Linked DNA regions of Homo sapiens: all the other regions are linked to region 2. Evidence: promoter capture Hi-C in 16 types of primary human blood cells and fetal thymus (Javierre and others, 2016). All regions are on one chromosome and are shown on one strand. The core of a region is centred on a gene start or on the middle of the fragment in contact, and the rest is flanking DNA. Distances in the headings are between cores, read along the strand shown. Region 1 overlaps POLE2 (DNA polymerase epsilon 2, accessory subunit). Region 2 holds the start of SOS2 (SOS Ras/Rho guanine nucleotide exchange factor 2). Region 3 overlaps LRR1 (leucine rich repeat protein 1). Region 4 has its middle 9.1 kb from the start of RPS29. Region 5 overlaps NIN (ninein). Region 6 has its middle 12 kb from the start of ABHD12B. Region 7 overlaps DNAAF2 (dynein axonemal assembly factor 2).

The links. Contacts are between HindIII fragments. The CHiCAGO score rates a contact against its expected background, and 5 or more counts as called.
Region 1: a contact is called between a fragment that was not itself captured here and the fragment with the promoter of SOS2 in region 2, in 2 of 17 cell types (fetal thymus and total CD8 T cells). The highest score is 5.6, in fetal thymus.
Region 3: a fragment that was not itself captured here is called in contact with the fragment with the promoter of SOS2 in region 2 in 1 of 17 cell types (fetal thymus); the score reaches 5.0 in fetal thymus.
Region 4: a contact is called between a fragment that was not itself captured here and the fragment with the promoter of SOS2 in region 2, in 2 of 17 cell types (non-activated CD4 T cells and activated CD4 T cells). The highest score is 6.9, in non-activated CD4 T cells.
Region 5: a contact is called between a fragment that was not itself captured here and the fragment with the promoter of SOS2 in region 2, in 4 of 17 cell types (fetal thymus, neutrophils, activated CD4 T cells and 1 more). The highest score is 6.7, in fetal thymus.
Region 6: a fragment that was not itself captured here is called in contact with the fragment with the promoter of SOS2 in region 2 in 1 of 17 cell types (neutrophils); the score reaches 5.4 in neutrophils.
Region 7: a fragment that was not itself captured here is called in contact with the fragment with the promoter of SOS2 in region 2 in 3 of 17 cell types (total CD4 T cells, monocytes and fetal thymus); the score reaches 6.4 in total CD4 T cells.

The regions. Positions count from the first base shown.
Region 1 is chr14:49,649,355-49,652,054 of GRCh38, reverse strand. It overlaps POLE2 (DNA polymerase epsilon 2, accessory subunit), which reads left to right. Exons shown (of 19, transcript NM_002692.4): 16 at 678-786; 17 at 1,614-1,790. Among named protein-coding and RNA genes, the nearest start is that of DNAAF2, 15 kb to the right of the region's middle. The HindIII fragment of the contact is 460 bases long and covers 1,031-1,490 here.
Region 2 is chr14:50,230,282-50,232,981 of GRCh38, reverse strand. SOS2 (SOS Ras/Rho guanine nucleotide exchange factor 2) reads left to right here and starts at 1,404. Exons shown (of 23, transcript NM_006939.4): 1 at 1,404-1,785. The coding sequence starts at 1,699. RefSeq lists an enhancer at 493-582 and a silencer at 733-1,812. The HindIII fragment of the contact is 6,352 bases long and covers 525-2,700 here.
Region 3 is chr14:49,603,573-49,606,272 of GRCh38, reverse strand. All of the region lies in intron 2 of LRR1 (leucine rich repeat protein 1), which reads right to left. Among named protein-coding and RNA genes, the nearest start is that of LRR1, 6.0 kb to the right of the region's middle. The HindIII fragment of the contact is 5,469 bases long and covers 1-2,700 here.
Region 4 is chr14:49,575,922-49,578,621 of GRCh38, reverse strand. It overlaps a transcript of RPS29 not described here and the pseudogene RPL32P29. Among named protein-coding and RNA genes, the nearest start is that of RPS29, 9.1 kb to the left of the region's middle. The HindIII fragment of the contact is 2,623 bases long and covers 72-2,694 here.
Region 5 is chr14:50,823,758-50,826,538 of GRCh38, reverse strand. All of the region lies in intron 2 of NIN (ninein), which reads left to right. Among named protein-coding and RNA genes, the nearest start is that of NIN, 6.0 kb to the left of the region's middle. The HindIII fragment of the contact is 4,605 bases long and covers 1-2,781 here.
Region 6 is chr14:50,858,746-50,861,445 of GRCh38, reverse strand. No RefSeq gene overlaps it. Among named protein-coding and RNA genes, the nearest start is that of ABHD12B, 12 kb to the left of the region's middle. The HindIII fragment of the contact is 5,285 bases long and covers 1-2,700 here.
Region 7 is chr14:49,627,582-49,630,281 of GRCh38, reverse strand. It overlaps DNAAF2 (dynein axonemal assembly factor 2), which reads left to right. Exons shown (of 3, transcript NM_018139.3): 2 at 2,127-2,270. Among named protein-coding and RNA genes, the nearest start is that of DNAAF2, 6.3 kb to the left of the region's middle. The HindIII fragment of the contact is 7,948 bases long and covers 1-2,700 here.

The DNA.
Region 1 (2,700 bases), core at 11-2,510, 580 kb after region 2:
TGATTTAGTGACAGCCGTATCCTTGCAGTGGTAATCAAGGCCCTGTGTTATCTGGCTCCGTTACCTCTCTGATTTCCTCTCCTCCCCATTTACTCCAGCCACACTAGCCTCCCTTCTGTTCCTCAAGGATGCCAGGCGAGCTCCAGTCTGAGGGCCTGGGCTCCATCTGTTCCCTTTGCCTGCAGTGCGCTTCCTCTGGGTATCTGCTTGACTAAGTCCCTCTTCCGCTTCAAGCCTGTGCTCAAGTCACACTAAATTATGAGCCCGGCCTGTTCTGATCATCCTATTAATATGCCCGCCTTCTAGGCTCTCTCTTACCACATATGCTGTCCCTCTTAGCCTGTCTTTTTCTTTTTCTCTTATGCTTAATTATCTTAAAACATACTATATGATTATGTTCGCTTTTTATTTTCTCAGCCCCACCCCCTACTAGAATGTAAACTGTATGAGGGCTGGGATCTTTTGGTTCTGTTCGCTAATCCCTAGAATGGGGTAGGCATATATTAAGAGCTCAATACATAGCTGTTAAATGAATAGATGAATAGACAGACTCTGGTTGAAGTTTTGTGTGGTGAACAGTGAATGTGGGAATGGGGTTGTATTGTAAGAGATTTTACCTTTAAAATTAATATCATTTTTTTCTGAGAAGTCAAATTCAACTACTGTTTTCATTTCAGAATTCAGTACTGTACACAGGAAATTACTGTCTTCCGTGAAGACTTAGTAAATAAAATGTGCAGAAACTGCGTCCGTTTTCCTAGCAGCAATTTGGCTATTCCTAATCACGTAAGTGAAACAACTTTTTTATTAAACTGCCTTACATGTTGCATTATATAAAATTTTATTAAGCCACTTAATAATTTGTCCTTGGGTTAGGACATTTATTTATGGTTCAAAATAGTTTGAACGTACTTTTGTCAGTAAGTTAATTTTTGTTAGTGAAGTCAGTGTTTCTCAGCTTTCTACCTAAGTGTATGTCCTTTAGAGGACAGAGAAAAGCTGAGAATAAGCATGAAATTTCTTTCAAGCTTCGTGTTTTGCCTTTTAAACTCTTAAATTATACTTGAAAATATATGTATATTTGTTTTAATAAACTGTTCTTATTTATCCCATTGGTTACATATTTTATATAGTATGTCCATATCACAAGAATGTGCAGTATTTATCTTGTAGCTTCGAGGTTCCCTGACAATAGTTGTCAATCACAGGTTACATACACCCCCATTTGAGAAGTACGGAAATAGATGTTACAGAGCATTTTTATTATTCATTTTATAATATTTAAAGTTTATGGACCAGGTGCAGTGGCTTATGCCTGTAATCCCAGCACTTTGGGTGGCTTGCTTGAGGCCAGGAGTTTGAGACCAGCCTGGGCAGCATAATGATGTATATGTTATTAAATGAAAACTCATAGATTTTTTTTCCTAAAATACAGAATAGTTTATTTCACTTTTAAATTAGTGTCTCCCAAAGCTCTGTGAGTCAAAGCTTTCCTAGTTTCTCAAATTTTCTGGTTCCTTTTGGTAATTAATATTTAATTTGAAATTATTTGTTTAGCTATTTTCACTTTTGCAAATGAACTGAAGTTTGCTTTGTTTTGTGCTCTTTTGTAGTTTGTAAAGACTATCTTATCCCAAGGACATCTGACTCCCCTACCTCTTTATGTCTGCCCAGTGTATTGGGCATATGACTATGCTTTGAGAGTGTATCCTGTGCCCGATCTACTTGTCATTGCAGACAAATATGATCCTTTCACTACGACAAATACCGAATGCCTCTGCATAAACCCTGTAAGAATGTAGTTAATCTTATATAGTCATTATTTATCAAGATTAGAGTGCATTTTTTAATTTAAAAATATATATTTAATAAGATTATTGTCGAAGTAAAAATATGCTATTAGTGAAACACTGAATTAAGTTTCTATACACAGAAAGTTGGTATACACAGAAAGTTCTTAAACTTTCAGTATAGTGACTATAAAGTAACATGACTTAAAAAACAAAAAAACAAGCATACCCACAAGCATACCAAAACATAAATCCAAAAGAGTAATTTTCTCCTCTTCAGAACTTATCTTGGGATTCCTTTCTGGGAATTGCTTCAGAGCCTGCATATTGGTGGTACTTGTCCTTTGAGAATGATTTTGATTTTTGGAAATTGCACAGGTCCCAAAAATCTAAGCCTGATTAATATAGAAACCTCATTGGTACATATTTTATTACTTAATTTTATGTAGAACCTTGAAATTGCTTCAGAATCTTGAGGTTGCTTCAGAATTTCTGCAGAAATATAATTGACTTTTAGGCCAGGTATGGTGGCTCACACCTGTAATCCCAGCACTTTGGGAGGCCGAGGTGGGTGGATCACGAGGTCAGGAGTTCAAGACCAGCCTGACCAACATGGTGAAACCCCGTCTCTACTAAAAATTACAATAATTAGCTGGGCGTGGTGGTGCGCGCCTGTAATCCCACCTACTTGGGAGGCTGAGGCAGGAGAATTGCTTGAACCAGGGAGGCAGAGGTTGCAGTGAGCGGAGATCACGCCATTGCACTCCAGCCTGGGCGACAGAGCGAGACTCCATCTCAAAAAAAAAGAAAAGAAATATAGGCCGGGTGTGGTGGCTCACGCCTGTAATCCCAGCACTTTGGGAGGCCAAGGCGGGCAGATCACGAGGTCAGGAGATCGAGACCATCCTGG
Region 2 (2,700 bases), core at 155-2,654:
GAGGATGTTCTTGATTTAGTGGATACTTTAGTGGATTAGAAAAATAATCTTATTTTCCAACTCTGCCATTCTGATTTTGCCCAAATGAAAAAGTGGTGCATGTTTTGGGGAGAATAATTGCTCAGCTACTGATGCCGGAACTGAATTGTAGTACTGACTTATTTTTTGTACCCTGTTCGTCTTTTCCCTTTCTCACTGCTGGTGGCTAGGGACAGGGAGTAAAATATCTTCTTTACAACCTGTTAAAAGTAATGTGCTCAGCCTCTTTAGTGGGATGAAATTTGTGGTAATGAGTTACCAGAGCCTATGCCTCTTTGGATTGAAAAGCTTGTCAGGATCTTTTCTGGGTTGCTAATGAGTGTTTCCTAGACGCCGATCCAGGTTTTGTAGGACCTGAAGCCTACACAATTTGGATGACACGATTAAGAAAACAATTCGAAAATATCTTGAAAGTTTTGTAAAAACGATATGATTTTGTGAACGCACAGGGGCCCGTGCAAGTGAAGGACCTTTCAATTCAAGCTTGATCAACGTCACTGTCATCTGCCCCTTCTGACCCTACCACCAGGCTAAGGGCTTTCCACGCCTCATCTCTCGGTCCCCACACCATCACCCTAAGAAATAGTTACTGTATCTCCTAACGATATATTATATATAGTACCTACTTTGTGTAAACATACGGTACTCATGAAAACAAGCCACGTAGAGCACAAATACGTTAAATATCCTGTCCAGCCCGAATGCCCCTTTCTCTCCACGTCCCTATGCAGCCTCCCACGACGGTAGTCCTGGGGCTCCAGCGCTACAAGAGTGGCACCGAGTCCGGATTGTCTTAAGCAGGTCGAGAGGAGGGAGCATATGGGTAAAAAGCAGTCAAACTGAAGAGTCTGGAGCGGCCCCCAGCACAGTCTCGGGAAAAGCGGACTCCCCCGGGGCCCCAGGCCCCGCACCCCCGCGCCGGGCTGGCGCCTGTGCCTGCTCCGCGGCGCGCATGCTCCGTGTTAGGCCTCTTGGGCTATTCGGGATAATGAGCGCCGGGCCGAGGGGGCGGGCCGAGCCTCGGCTGCTGGGACTCAGGGCTCAGCGGCGACCCCAAGGCACTCTGCGCTGCTGCTAAAGGGGCAGCAACGGCGGCCAGCGCTGTGCGCGCCATAGCGAGGCTCGCTCGCCCGACGCGCACTCCGGGTCGGTCCCCAGAGCTCTGTGGAGGTGACTCGAGTGGGCAGGGCCGGGCGGCGCTGTCGGCTGGGAGGGCGGGGAGGAGGCGATGAGGAGACGAGCAGCCGCCGCCGCCGCCGCCGCTGCTCACCGCCCGCCGCGGCCGTAGCGGGAGTCGGGGCGGGGCTGGGCCAGCTGTACCCCTGACGGGCCGCGAACCCAGACAAAGGAGGAGGAGCCGCCCCAGAAGCGGGCCAGCGCCGCCGGGAAAGGAGGTCGCCGCCCGGGGTCGCCCGGGCTTGCGGGTCGCCGCGCTTCCTCTGCGGGCGCTGCGGGAGGCGAGGGCCGCCTCGGCGGAGGAAGCCGACCCCGGGGTCTCCGCCAGCCCGCCGGCGCCGCCTCCGAGCCGCCTCGGCCGTAGCCTCGGCCCGGGCGGGAGGCGGCGGCCGCCGGCGAGGCGAGGCGGCCCGCGCCCTGCCTGTCAGGCCACCGGCCCGGCCCGCGGGCTGCCCCCGATGCGGAGGCGCTGTCGCCGGGGCCATGCAGCAGGCGCCGCAGCCTTACGAGTTCTTCAGCGAGGAGAACAGTCCGAAATGGCGGGGACTGTTGGTCTCGGCCCTGCGGAAGGTCAGTGCTAGGGGCGGGGCGGCCGGCGGGTGGCCCGTGGCCCCCCGAGCTTCTAACGGGGAGCAGGTCGTCCCTCCCACAGGGCTCGAGTCCCCGGGGCCGAGCCGTTTCTCGTTGGCTGGCAATGGGGGGCTCACAATTGCCTGTTGCATTCTGAAGGACGTTTCTCAAGTTTTTTTTTTTTGCCTGGTCCCGGAAGGAAGGTTTTGTTATGATCATAAAACTGGATTTCATGTTGCAGTCATTTCGTCAGGCAACTTCCGCCGTTGACCAATTTGTTGTCCTCAGGCTGGAATCGGGCAAGAGAAAGTCCCGCTGGTATTTAGACAGTTTCTAAAACAAAAGCACATTTTCAGGCCGGGTAATTACTTTTAATTAAGTTCTTTGGGAGTGTTCCCCCTAGGCGGTTTGCTTGTCAAGGGTATCCACTTATGAGGCAATGGTTTTTTGTAATATGGATGTTTCACATGTGTGAAATGTCAGTGAGTCATAATATTCTTATTCATTTTACAGTTCTCAAGGTAAATTTAAAGCGCCTTCCCACTTCCTGCAAACGGTGTCTTACCTGTTTACAAGAGATTACCCTTAGAAAATTTGGTCAGTGTCTTCAGTGTCTTCACGACCAAATTGCGATTTAGGACTTGAAATCATTTTAAGGAACAAGAAAGGGGCAACTCCTGCAAATCAGTCTTTCATGTTTGGGTGCATTGCTAGGGTGCATCTTTCCTGTAGATGGTGGCGGTCTTCCTCTGTGAATTTAGGTAGTAACCATACGATCATTTTTATAATAAATCCTTCTGTAAGATCAAGACATTTAAAGACTGTGAATAGGTGCGTGATCAGCTGTCATGCCTGTTGAGCAGGGGCTTTCTTTCTTTGCCGTTAATGCAGACTTAGTCTCTTCTGCCTTTTGTG
Region 3 (2,700 bases), core at 70-2,569, 630 kb after region 2:
GGTGGATCACCTGAGGTTAGGAGTTCAAGGCCAGCTTGGCCAACATGGTGAAACCCCGTCTCTACTAAAAATATAAAAATTAGTGGGGCATGGCGGCAGGCGCCTGTAATCCCAGCTGCTTGGTAGGCTGAGGCAGGAGAGTTGCTTGAAACTGGGAGGCAGAGGTTGCAGTAAGCCAAGATCGCAAGACTGCACGGCAGCCTGGGCGACAGAGCGACTCCATATAAAAAAAAAAAAAAGAAAAAAAAAAAAGCTAATTTTTGTTGGAACATGGAAGCTATGTAGAGCAAAAGATTGGAAATACAGTATGAGGACAGATTGTAAATGAGCTCAGATGCCAACGTAAAGTGGAGGGATTTTAAGTATGAAAGTTACATGACAAGAACTAAATACTATTTTGGTAGCACTGTACACAATGAACCAGAGTAGGGAAAAGTCTGGAGAAGACCTGGGTCAACTAGGTACAATAAAGCATACTGGTTCACAGACTTGGGATTCACCCATATAACAGCTGAACTATCAAATGGAAGGCAGGTATGACAGAAAACAGCAGAGGACTGAAATAAAGCCTTTATTTTGGGGATAGAAAAAAATGTTGCTGGAAGCAAGAGACAAAGAAGTGACTAAGAAAACTGAAGGTAAACCATAGTGCCCTATCATAGATACCAAGAAAAGAAAGAGTTTTATTAAGAAAAGGGTAATTATCATTGTCAAATTCTACAGAGTGCAAAAATAATGAGAAATAATGATACTGTGATAGACAAGTGAAAAGATCAGTGATCTCTGAGACAGTGTTTTCAGTAAACCAGTAAAGGTCAAAAGATAAAAAGTGGAGACAATGAATTCAGCCTTGTCTTTCTAGAAATTTGTTTTCTTTTTTTAAAATCAGTAAGATCTCAGCTTGTTTTTAGATAGAAAGGAAGAATTAGTGAAAGAATAAGCTGCAAGTCAAGAAAAAAAATGAAAAATCACAAGGAGGAGATGGGACAAAATTATTCCATTCAATCCAAACTCCTTAGTTATCGAACTTTTAATGTTGCAGAGCACTTTGCTTGGAGTTAAAAATAATGCACAGTTGGGCCAGATGTGGTGGACCATGCCTGTAATTTCACCACTTTGGGAGGCCAACGTGGACAGATTGCTTGAGCCCAGGAGTTTGAGACCAGCCTGTGCAACAAGGTGAAACCCTGTCTCTACCAGTACAAAAAAATTAGCCTGGTATGGTGTTGTGCCCCTATAGTCCCAGTTACTTGGGAGGCTGAGAAGGAAGGATCACCTGAGCCTGGAAGGTCGAGGGTGCAGTGAGCTGTGATGGTGCCACTGCACTCCAGCCTAGGTGAGAGTGAGACCTTGTCTCATCAAAAAGAAAAAAAAAGCAAGGTTGAACAACGAGACATTGTTTCCACCCATCAGGAAGGGAAAGAGGAATAGGGCAGAGGGCAGAAGGCAGAAAAAAACCACCAGTTTTAAAATTCTAATGGTTTATAAATTTTTTTTGTTTGAGAAAGGGTCTTGCTCTGTCACCCATGCTGGAGTACAGTGGCACAATCATAGTTCACCGAAGCCCTGAACTTTTTTTTGAGACAGGGTCTTGCTCTATCAACCAGGATGGAGTGCAGTGGCTGCAATCACAGTTCACTGCAGCCTTGACCTTCCAGGCTCAGGTGACCCTCCACCTCAGCCTCCCAAGTAGCTGAGATTACAGGTGCACACCACTATGCCTGGCTAATTTTTTTGTAGAGATGGGGTTTCACCATGTCACCCAGGCTGATCTTGAACACCTGGATTCAAGCAATCCGCCCAACTAGGGCTCCCAAAGTGCTGGGATCATAGGCGTGAGCCACCGTGTCTGGCCTCCAGGTTCTAACTTGTGGGATTAAGTGATCCTCCTGCCTCGGCCTCCCAGGTGTGAGCCACTGCACCCAGCCAGTTTATGGTATTTTTGTTTTGTTTTGTTTTGTTTTGTTTGAGACAGGGTCTGGCTCTGTCGCCCAGGTTGGAGTGCAGTGGTGCAATCTTGGCTCATTGTAACCTGCACCTCCCAGGCTCAAGTGATCCTCCCACCTCAGGCTCCCAAGTAGCTGGCACCACAGGTGTGAAAACCACGCCTGGCTAATTTTTTTTTTTTTTTTTGTGGAGACAGGGTTTCACCATGTTGCCCAGGCTGGTCTTGAACTCCTGAGAGCAAGTGATCCACCAGTCTTGGCCTTCCAAAGTGCTGGGATTACAGGTGTGAGCTATGGCACCCAGCCTCAGTTTATATTTTTATAAGAATGATTACAGTCCGGGCACGGTGGCTCATGCCTATAATCCCAGCACTTTGGGCGGCCAAGGTGGGCGGATCACGAGGTCAGGAGTTTGAGACCAGCCGGGCCAACATGGTGAAACCCGTCTCTACTAAAGATACAAAAAATTAGCTGGGCATGGCGGCACGTGCCTGTAATCCCAGCTACTGGGAGGCTGGGGCAGGAGAATCGCTTGAACCCGGGAGGTGGAGGTTGCAGTGAGCTGAGATCACGCCACTGTAATCCAGCCTGGGTGACAGGGAGAGACTCTGTCTCATTAAAAAAAAAAAAAAAAAAAAAAAAAAAGGAATGATTACAGTAAGGGCCAGGCACAGTAGACAAAAATTCGCCAGGAGTGGTGGCACCCACCTGTGGGTTGCAGTGAACCAAGCTCTTCCCACTGCACTCCAACCTG
Region 4 (2,700 bases), core at 134-2,633, 650 kb after region 2:
GCCACTGCATTCCAGCCTGGGAGACAGAGTGAGACCCTGTCTCAAAAAAAAAAAAAAAAAAAGTGAAAGCTTTGGTAAATATTGGTAGTCTACAAAATTGCCGAAAGAAATTTTTTTTATAAAAAGTGAAAAATTGTATATGTGCTACAATTTTATTATGTTAAAAAACAAGTACACAGGGAAAAAAATCAGAAGGAAACATGTCATTATGTTAGCAGCATTTGACTTTGGGTGATGTGATTTATGATTTGATTTGTAGCAGTATCTGATTAAGACTCATTTAGAGATTGAGTATCCAGATACTGCAGTGTATAATGTCCCTGGTACCAATATTGCTAGTGAGGCTTCTGCTCCTCCTAAAACAGCTCATTCTATTTTTAGATTGCTTTGATGGTAAGTTTTTTCTTAGGTTGCTATGATTTCATTCTACTGATTTTGACTGCTACTCATTGATATTAATTCTGTGTTGTCCTGTACAAAACAAGTCTAATCTCTGAAAAAAAAAAGGGCTAAATATTTAGGCATGAAGGCTCTCATGTTTTCCTAGAATCTTCTTATTTCCAGTATAACCATCTCTGATTATTTCAACTGTTTCTCTAAAACATGATTTAGAGTGATCTTTGGTGTTCTCTGAATTAATTCCACTCAATCTAGATCCTGATAGTGACATAACATGTTTCACAGGGCAGGCATGCAGTACAAATTTATTGAATTTGGTTGGGCATCATTGCTTTTTCACTTTTTATGGGTCCTCTTTTACCATTACAGAAAGACCTGAGCTGTCTTCCTTGGCACTGCCTATGGAGGTGACACCCATCTCCTCCATCATGGCCATCCTGAGACCGCTCGCGAAGCCCAAGATCATCAAAAAGAGCACCAAGTTCACTGGGAACCAGTCAGACTGATATGTCAAAATTAAGGGTAACTGGTGGAAACACAGAGGTATTAACAACAGGGTTCATAGAAGGTTTGAGGGCCAGATCTATGCCCAACATTGGTTATGGGAGAAACAAAAAGACAAAGCACATACTGCCCAGTGGCTTCTGGAAGTTCCTGGTCCACAACGTTAAGGAGCTGGAAGTACTGCTGGTGAGCAACAAATCTTACTGTGTTGAGATCACTCATGATGTTTCTTCCAAGAACTGCAAAGCCATCTTGGAAAGAGCAGCCCAGGTGGTCATCAGAGTCACCAATGCCAATGCCAGCCTGCACAGTGCAGAAAGTGAATAGACAGTGAATGTGTTTGTTTTATTGGGGTTTAAATAAAACCAATAAAACTGTAAAAACAAAAACAACAAAAACCAGAGACCCTGGCTTTTGGACAGTTGTTCGTGTGGCTAATGCCCCCAACAGTTTTATTTTTTAAAATTTTATTTATGTATTGTTTTTGAGATGAAGTCTTCCTCTGACTGGAGTGCAGTGATGCAAGCTCAGCTCTCTGCAACTTCCACCTCCCAGGTTCAAGTGATTCTTCTGTCTCAGCCTCCCAAGTGGCTGGGATTACAGGTGCCCACTACCACACCTGACTAATTTTTGTATTTTTGTAGAGATGGGGTTTCATCCTCTTGGCCAGGCTGGTTTCGAACTCCTGACCTCAAGGGATCCTCCCACCTCAGCTTCCCAAAGTGCTGGGATCACAGGCTTGTATTAGTTCATTTTCACACTGCTGATAAAGACATACCTAAGACTGGGAAGAAAAATAGGTTTATTGGACTCACAGTTCCATGTGGCTGGGGATGCCTCACAATTATGGTAGAAGGCAAAAGGCACTTCTTAGATGGCAGCGGCAAGCAGGAAATGAGGAAGACATGAAAGCAGATATCCCTTATAAAACCATCAGTTCTCGTGATACTTACTCACTACCATGAGAAAGTATGGGGGAAACCGCTCCCATGATTCAGTTATCTCCCACCGGGTCCCTCTCACAACATGTGGGGATTATGCGAGTACAATTCAAGATGAGATTTGGGTGGGGACACAGCCCACAAACCATAATCAAGGCATGAGCCACTGTGCCTGGCCTTCAACAGTTTTAAAGCAGCCTGCTTGCATAACCTCTGCTAGGACATCGTTCTTAAAAACTATCTTTAATGGTAATTGGTGTATTAGGGATTTGGGTTTTTAGGTAGGCAGAGAAAAAACACTTCTAGTGGTATGATTAAGAAGGGTATAATAAAGTGTTTTAATTTCCTCAATATTGACAAAAATTGAAAAAAAGAGGCCAGGCAAAGTGGCTCATGCCTGTAATCCTAGCCTTTTGGGAGGCTGAGGCAGGAGGATGGTTTGATGCCAGGAGTTCCAGACCAGCCTGGGCAACATCAGGAGATCCCCTATCTACCAAAATTAAACAAACAAAAAAACCCAAAAACAATTAGCCAGGCGTGGTGGTGCATGTCTGTAGTCCCAGTTTCTCAGGAGGCTGAGATGAGAGGATAACTTGAGCCCAAGAGGTCCAGGTTTCAATGAGTCATGTTTGTATCACTTAAAAAAAAAAAAAAGGCTGCACTATTAGCTGTTTCTCAGGAAGGTTAATGTAGAACATAAAAGGCTCAGTTTGTAGATAGACTGAGTATATGTGTGTGTAGGAATCAAGGCTATACAGGGTCCAAAAATTAGCCTAGATTATGTGTGCTAGTTCCAGGTATCTTCTATCTTTTAGAATTTTAAAAGAATAGAGGCAGAAAGTCACAAGCTTAATCT
Region 5 (2,781 bases), core at 175-2,674, 590 kb before region 2:
CACTGTGATTTCATCAGCTGGGGTAATGAACACCACTGTCAGAGTCGGCAGCATTTTGGCAGCCTTATTTTGAGTTATTTGGAAGGAAAATGCTCAGAATAATTGTCATTATGGGTGGTTATTGAGTGGTAAATGTTTTGATTAATGGTTCTGTGCATCTGCTTCTTATTTAACCATCCCCAGTTAGAACTCCAAAATATTGCCCATACTGGTTCTTTCATTCCGAAAGAGTCATAAAGCCTTCTGACAATTTGACTGGAAAGGTAGATGGTGAGGAGAGGCCCAGGTTTATTATGGCAGGCTTCGTAACACTGGAGCTCTTCTTTGCAATTTGAAGTAGAATTTCTCGCTCAAAATGTAACTTTCTTAATCTCTGAGTAAGACTCCTGCCTCTGGTGGGTACCAGTTAGGATCTGACCCTGAAAAGCACTGGATTGCACAGATTATACATACTTAAGTGTTTATTCAGGGGAAGTCATTTACGAATTACCAATTCCTGGGCAATGCCCATTATTGAAGACATGGGACACTTCATGATCATTTTTATATAAGAATTTCTTTCTTTCATGCCCTAAATCCCAAAGCTGCTTTAGAAAAAAAAGGGAATGTGTATTCTATCTGTATATCCCTGGTGCCTTGTAGGCTATAATTATTCAATAAATGGATCAAGGGAGGTAGGAAGGAAGGAACTCTGCTTCTCAATTCCAATTTGGAAAAGTTTGTGGCCATGGAGTGTTGTGTGGGGATTTCTACTGCTTAGTACTGTTCAACTGGCTAACACATAAAGGTGGAGATAAGTGGTTTGCCAATGGCATCATTTCAGAGGTCTCATTCATGTGTTCTGTGTGCATGTGTAGGATTGAGGGATAATATAATTCAGTGTCACACTAGAGTGCAAATCTTGGCTCCACCCCCATTTTGTTCAAGGAGATTAATGCTGTCTCCTTGGACAGTGGCTTAATTTTGCCAAGCCCCAATTTCTACATCTTGCGTGGGAAAATGAGAAGATCCACTTCTAAGATTTGGGAGGATTAAATGAGATGATATACATAAAGTACTTAGTTTAGGCCAGACTCATAGTAAATGTTCAGAAGTAATTCCCAGTTACAGTGCAGCTTTCTGCTTTTATTTGACATTAAATTTATCAATAACCTGCTTTTAAAGATAGAGGAAGCTCTGAACATTACCTGCTGCCATTATCATTTAGTTATATAATGATGTTTATATACATAGTACACTCCCTGCCCATTCTCAGTCTGTTCTATAGCATTTCACATCTCCTGCTTTGCTTCTTTGGAGGTAGATCTGTAGATAATTCACTTGTTACCTCCTCTTCAGTTTACCACTCCTTTGTAGCTGCAGGTATTCTTTTGGTTATCTTAAATTCCCTCTTGTATCAGCTTTCTCTGGAATTAGCCACTCTCGCTTGCTTGCCACATTTAACTCTCAGAACAAACCTTCCAGATGGATATTGTTATTCTCATGCTGTAATCGAGGGGACTTGAGAAAGGTTTTAGTATAGATTCTCCTCCAAAGTTTCATCCCATAGCAAGACAATGCAGTCGAAGTTTGTGAATCCATTTACTTAATTACTAGCCTATTGAATTAAACTTCAGACAGCGCTGCATGTTACAGATTGGCAGTTGGTGTTGGCTTTCTACTTCTTGCTTAGGAGGCTGAAAATGCCTTTGAGAAAGGGTGGGATGGGGGAAGTGGAGGTGTGTAGGTGGATGAGATGGGCATTCCAAAATTTTCATATGCCCATTTCTGTAGACCTCATTTAGGGTACGTTTCCTCTCAAGGAGTGATCCATACAGGAAGTCAATCCATGATATTTACCAAATCCCTGGCTTGAAGAACAGACTGACTGTAGTATGCATTTGGGGGAAGATATAAAAGAAATAGGAGCGTGGATCTTACCATTAAAGAACTTTCTGCCAAGTGGGGAGAAAAAAATTCTTGCACATGAAATTACTGATGAACATTTGGGAAATAATATCAACCAGTAAAAATGCCTTCTGTGCCAGATGAGCACTGACAACTTGTCACCATGCGTAACATCTCCTGGATGTTTCAGCGTGAGCATTTGTTCCACAGGGGTGGTGCTTGTCTCCCCTTCAGTCAAGCACAGTGTTTTGAGAAGGAAGGAGATGAAATAAAGAGATAAAGAAAAGAAAGCTGCCATAAAATGAAAGAGGTTTGATTTAGTGAAAATCCAATGACCTCCCAAAGAGTGGGGCATGATAGTATATCAAATTCGACACCGTGGATAAGATCAGGGCTTCTCAGTACATCAGTGTTTTATTCCTCTCTTTCATTGGTTTAAGATGGACAAATCCCCGCCCCTTAAAAATAATTTTTAAAAAGGGAAGTGTTAGAATTCTTTCGCTTTTGAGTTTTTAAACATATATGCAAAATCAAGCAAAAGAAGAGTCTTGCTTTTATGAGGTCGGTCAGATAACAGCCCAGGGGACTGTAAAACTCAGAGTGAGACTAAGAGCTACCGCAACACTGAAAATCCTGGAGCACCTTGGGGATTCTCAGCAGATCTTAGTTGACAATTAACTGGTGGACTCTAAGTGAATCTTGTTAGCGAAGTGTTGGCCTTGTCTAAATTCTTAACTCCTGTGGCTTTGCATAACAACTTGGTGTTTCTTTTCTGAGGCTTTGATGTTTATATAACACTCTCAACTTATTTTGAAAACATTTACATAGTGATTAGTTAACCCAACAGACCAATCCTGGGAAGACAGCCAGAGCCTGCAGCACCTTAGTAACAGA
Region 6 (2,700 bases), core at 140-2,639, 630 kb before region 2:
TCCTTTCTGCATAAAGAAGCAGTCCCCCTGATCTATTCAGGATGGAAGGCACTTTCCAAATTGCCTCTAGAGCAGCATGATATTCTGTGTGGTCCCAGTTTTTATAAAGCAAAAAGTGGCTCAGATAAACTACATAGATGAGCAAGAAATAGGAAAAATTGGTCCTCAGTAGAAATCACAGAGGCAGACTAGTTTCACATCAAAACAGTGATCCAATCTGCTCACTACAGACAAAGGTACCAGGTGAACACAAAGAAGCTGCCCTTTGGTTAATGTTTGAGCCTTATGTCAGAAATTCTCTCACATCACAGACTCTTTGTGATTGAAAGCAAACTTTCAATCATCTTAAATGTAGGGTTTTTATGTAATGTTATAAAATAAACTCTAATGCAGGTCAATAAGTAACTCATGTAGTTTCTCAGGAAGAGGATATCATTAGTAAGACTTACATCACTAATATAACCATAACCACTCCCTCTAAGAATTAAATTTATCCTTTCAGCAAAGGCTCAATGAATTGCAAAAAAAAAAAAAAAAAGTAATCTAATGATATCTTCTCGAATGAAAGACTTGTTGAAAATTCACCTGGGTTATGCAGCTGTCACTAACAAGCTAAAACATTGCTTTCATTCTATACCGTTTGTTGTCATGGGAGCTAATAGGTTGGGGGCGGGGGTGGGTGGGACTTTTCTCCATTTATTTGCAAAGCATAAAATTGATAACAAGCTCTGTGTTGTGATTTTTAGATCAGACACGCGGGGGCAGCAGTGAGCTGATGAGCAGCACAAACAATGGTGACACCTTGGAGCCAGAAAGTTTGAATCTAGAGATTGAGATGCCGGCTAGCTCTGTTTTAAAATTATTTACACCAAAAAGATACACATTTTTAAAACCTTTAAAATTAAATACTAGAGGAATTCCTTCTAGCAGATGTTTCCTGCTCCTCATTAGTGCTTAATTTTCTAATTTCCCTGATGTTTTTGCTTTTTCTATTGACATTTTTTTTTCAATCCGTTGAGGAATTTGATCATTTTAAAGCTGAGAAACTTCCTCCTGACCAGCCGAGTTGAAACCCGGGGAGCACAGGCGGGATATTCCCACCCCACAGGCTCAGAAAACGAGCTCTGTGCGGTGCAGAGAGTAAAAGGACTGCCTTTGTGGGGAGCCCACTTTGGCCTGGAGCTGACAACATCTTGAGAGCAAATCGGTTCCAAGGGCTCCTTTTTATAAAATGGGGAAACACAGCGGCACTCCTTCTTCCTTCCCAAAGACGGATGTGTTTCATCCCTGCCTATCTGGAGCTGCTGTTCTAGTATGGCACAGGCAGATCGCCCATCTCTGAAGAGCAAGATGGGCGTGTACCCGGTTTCACTTTCACTGCAGACAGGAGAGTCTGTACACAAAGGTACCACAGCCGATCCATCTTTTTTTTTTTTTTTTTTTTTTTTTTTTTTGAGACGGATACTCGCTATGTCGCCCAGGCTGGAGTGCAGTGGCGCGGCCGATCCATCTTTAAACCCCCAGCTGAGGCGGCTTGTTTACTGAGGACAGCCTGGTCCACCTGAAGAGGCCGTTGGAGAATGACACCCCAAAGGCAGAAAGGGAGGGATTCCCCACATGGCCCCAGAACAGCCTCACAAGGGCGGCCAGGACAGCCCCTCTTGCTGCGCCTGACAAGAGCCCCTTTGTCAGGCTGTCAGGCCGGGTTTTATTTTTAGACTCAGCCAGGGCTGCCTCCTGCCCGGAGCTTTCCCCTCGCACAGCTGTTGCCTCTGCTTTCCAAAGCCCTAGCCTACCGGTGCTGTGCTTCCCTTGGCCTTGGTGTGGCTTGACAAGTTGGAAGAATGATGGTGGCTTTAAAGAGAAGGGTTGGGGAGGGGTGAGCTCCCAGGCAGGCTCCTGGGCCCTTCCTGCTCAGCCCCGGGTCAGCTTGCTTCCCCCCATCCCAGCATGCACTTCCAGCCCAGGCATTTTAAAACCAAACAATCCAGCTCCCCCAGGATGGGCAGCCTCATTGCACTGGGTGGTTGGTTACCCCTCTGTCTGGGTGTGGGACACTACCTGGCAGTGACCTGTTGAGTAGCCAGTGAGAAAGCTCAGAGCCAGGAGTCAAACTGCACAGCCACTCCTGAACCTCAGGCCCTCCCTGATCAAAAGAGTTCCTTGTATGTATTGTATTCTAGATAGCTTATTTCTTCCACTACAAAAGAAATGTGCATTTATTGTAGCATTTCCATCCAGCTCGACTCTCTAGACAAGTCTAGGCATAATTTTACATTTCCGATGCCATATTGGATTTGTAACTTTGACCCTCCATATGCGTATTTAAAATCCACACTGAGACAGGGACTATCTCTGGGGACTAGGATCAGGGAAATAAGGCTTTTTATTTATACAGTTTTGCTTTTTATTTTCCACACTTTTGTATTGTTTAATCTTTTCCCAAGAAATGAATTTATTGTATTTATTTCTTTAATTGTGCAACTTTTATTTTTTTAAAGATGGGGGTCTCACTCTGTTGCCCAGGCTGAAGTGCAGTGGTGCAGTCATAGCTCTTTGTCACTTAGAATTCCTGGGCTCAACTGATCCTTCCACCTTGGCCTCCCCAGTAGCTGGGACTACAGGTGCAAGCCACCATGCCAGGATGGAAATGAATTATTTTGTAATGTAAAAAATAAAGGAAAGAGGACAGCTCTAACT
Region 7 (2,700 bases), core at 5-2,504, 600 kb after region 2:
AGCATCTTGAAATCTACCTCATTATTTATTTATTTATTTATTTATTTGGGAGACAGAGTCTCGCTCTGTCTCACCCAGGCTGGAGTGCAGTGGTGCGATCATGGCTCACTGCAGCCTCAACCTCCCAGACTCAAGCGATCATCCCACCTTAGCCTCTGGAGTAGCTAGGACCACAGGTGCATGCTACCACTCCCGGCTAATTTTTGTATTTTTTGTAGAGATGAGTTTTGCCATGTTGCCTAGGCTGGTCTCGAACTTCTGGGCTCAAACAATCCACCTGCCTTGGCCTCCTAAAGTGCTGGAATTATAAGCATGAGCCACTGTGCCCAGCCTAATTTTTTTCATAATTTACTTTTTCTCTGGAGCATAGATTCAAAATGCCCTGAATATATGCTCTCTACTTCATTCTTTTAATAACTATACAGTTTGCTAATGTTACGCTGGAGTATCCCAGTGCTTAAAAATATAATACACTTGGCTGGGTGCAGTGGCTCACGCCCGTAATCCCAGCACTTTGGTAGGCCAAGGTAGGAGGACAGCTTGAATCCAGGAGTTGGAGACCAGCCTGGACAACAAAGTGAGACCTGTATCTACAAAAAATGTCAAATTTTTTTTTTTGAGACAGAGTCTCACTCTGTCGCCCAGGCTGGACTCACTGCAATCTCCGCCTCACGGGTTCACGTGATTGCAGTTTTAGTAGAGACAGGGTTTCACTATGTTGGCCAGGCTGGTCTCGAATTCCTGACCTGAAGTGATCCACCCACCTTGGCCTCCCAAAGTGCTGGAATTACAGGCGTTAGCTGCCACACCAGGCCCCAAAAATGTAAAAATTAGCTGGGCATTATGGCATGCACCTGTAGTCCCAGGTACCCAGGCACTTGGGGGCACAGGTGGAGGATTGCTTGAGCCAGGGAGGTCAAGGCTGCAGGGGGCTATGAGTGTGCGACTGCATTCCAGCCTGGGCAACAAAGTGAGACCCTGTCTCAAGGCAAAAAAAAGAAAAAAAGGGGGGCGGGGGCTGGGTGTGGTGGTGGCTCACGCCTGTAATCCCAGCACTTTGGGAGGCCAAAGCAGGTGGATCACTTGAGTGCAGAAGTTTGAGGCCAGCCTGTGCAACAGGGCAAAACCCTGTCTCTACAAAAAAATGCAAAACTTAGCCGAGAGTGGTGGCATGTTCTGTGGTCCCAGCTACTGTAGAGGCTGAGGCGGGAGGATCACTTGAGCCTGGGAGGTCAAGGCTGCAGCGAGCCGTGATTATGCCACTGCACTCCAGCCTGGGAGACAGAGCAAGACTCTGTCTCAAAAACAAAATCAAACAAAAAAACACACCACTTATTTGAAATAAAATACTGTAATTGGCTCTTACCTGCCCAAGAACTAAAAGGTCACACAAAATTTGAATAGATCTTTTCATGTATATTTCTTAGCCACCTCATTAGGAAATGTTTTAAAGCTGAATTATATTTTGTATCTGGGATCCCATTTATAGCCCTAGAGATGATGTTATTCTTCTGAAATACTAAAAGAGGCCAGCTGTGGTTGCTCACACCTGTAATCCCAGCCCTTTGGGAGGCCAGGGCAGGTGGATAGCTTGAGGTCAGGAGTTCAAGACCAGTCTGGCCAACATGGTAAAACCCCATCTCTACCAAAAATACAAAAATTAGTCCGGCATGGTGGCAGTCGCCTGTAATCCCAGCTACTCGGTAGTCTGGGGCAGGAGAATTGCTTGAACCTGGGAGGCGGAGGTTGCAGTGAGCCGAGATTGCACCACTGCACTCCAGCCTGGGCAACAGAGTGAGACTATGTCTCAAAAAAACAAAACAAAAGAAACAAAAAAAGAAAGAAAAATACTAAAAGGTCAGGTTTAATAGACAGAAAAAGTACCAAGACCTCTTTCTTTTAGGTTCTTTTTCTATACGTTTATGTTTGTTCTCAGTACAACTCTTATTGCTCTGTACAATACCAAACTTAAATTTTTCTAAGACAGCTCATAGGAATAACATTAAAATAAACATTTTAAAAAGTGTAACCCTGAACAATGTGAGAATTTTTGTGAGCTGCTTTGAGATACAACTGTTGTCAAGTGGGACTTATTAGGCAGAATATTTTTTCCCTTTTTATTTTAGGAAAGGTTATTTGTCAATGAAGAAAATGTTAATGAGTTTCTTGAAGAGGTCCTGAGCTCTCCATTCAAACAGTCTATGTCCTTGACCCCACCATTAATTGAAGTTCTTCAAGTTACTGATAATAAGATTCAAATTAATGCAAAGGTAAGGAAGTTGATGGGCTCTATAGAGGAGTAATGAAGCACAGAGTTAAAACCTAACAAATTATTGATTTCTTAATATCATAACTTTAAACAAAATTTACATAATGGTTGGGCAGAGTGATGTTAAGAGAAGAAAAGTTTTTCTTTTTTTTTTTTTTGAGATGGAGTCTCCCTCTGTCACCCAGGCTGAAGTGCAGTAGCGCGATCTCATCTCACTGCAACCTCCGCCTCCTGGGTTCAAGCGATTCTCCTGCCTCAGCCTCCCAAGTAGCTGGGACTACAGGAGCATGCTACCATGCCTGGCTAATTTTTTGTATTTTTAGTAGAGATTGGGTGTCACCGTGTTAGCCAGGATGGTCTCGATCTCCTGACCTCATGATCCACCCGCCTCGGCCTCCCAAAGTGCTAGGATTACAGGCATGAGCCACCGC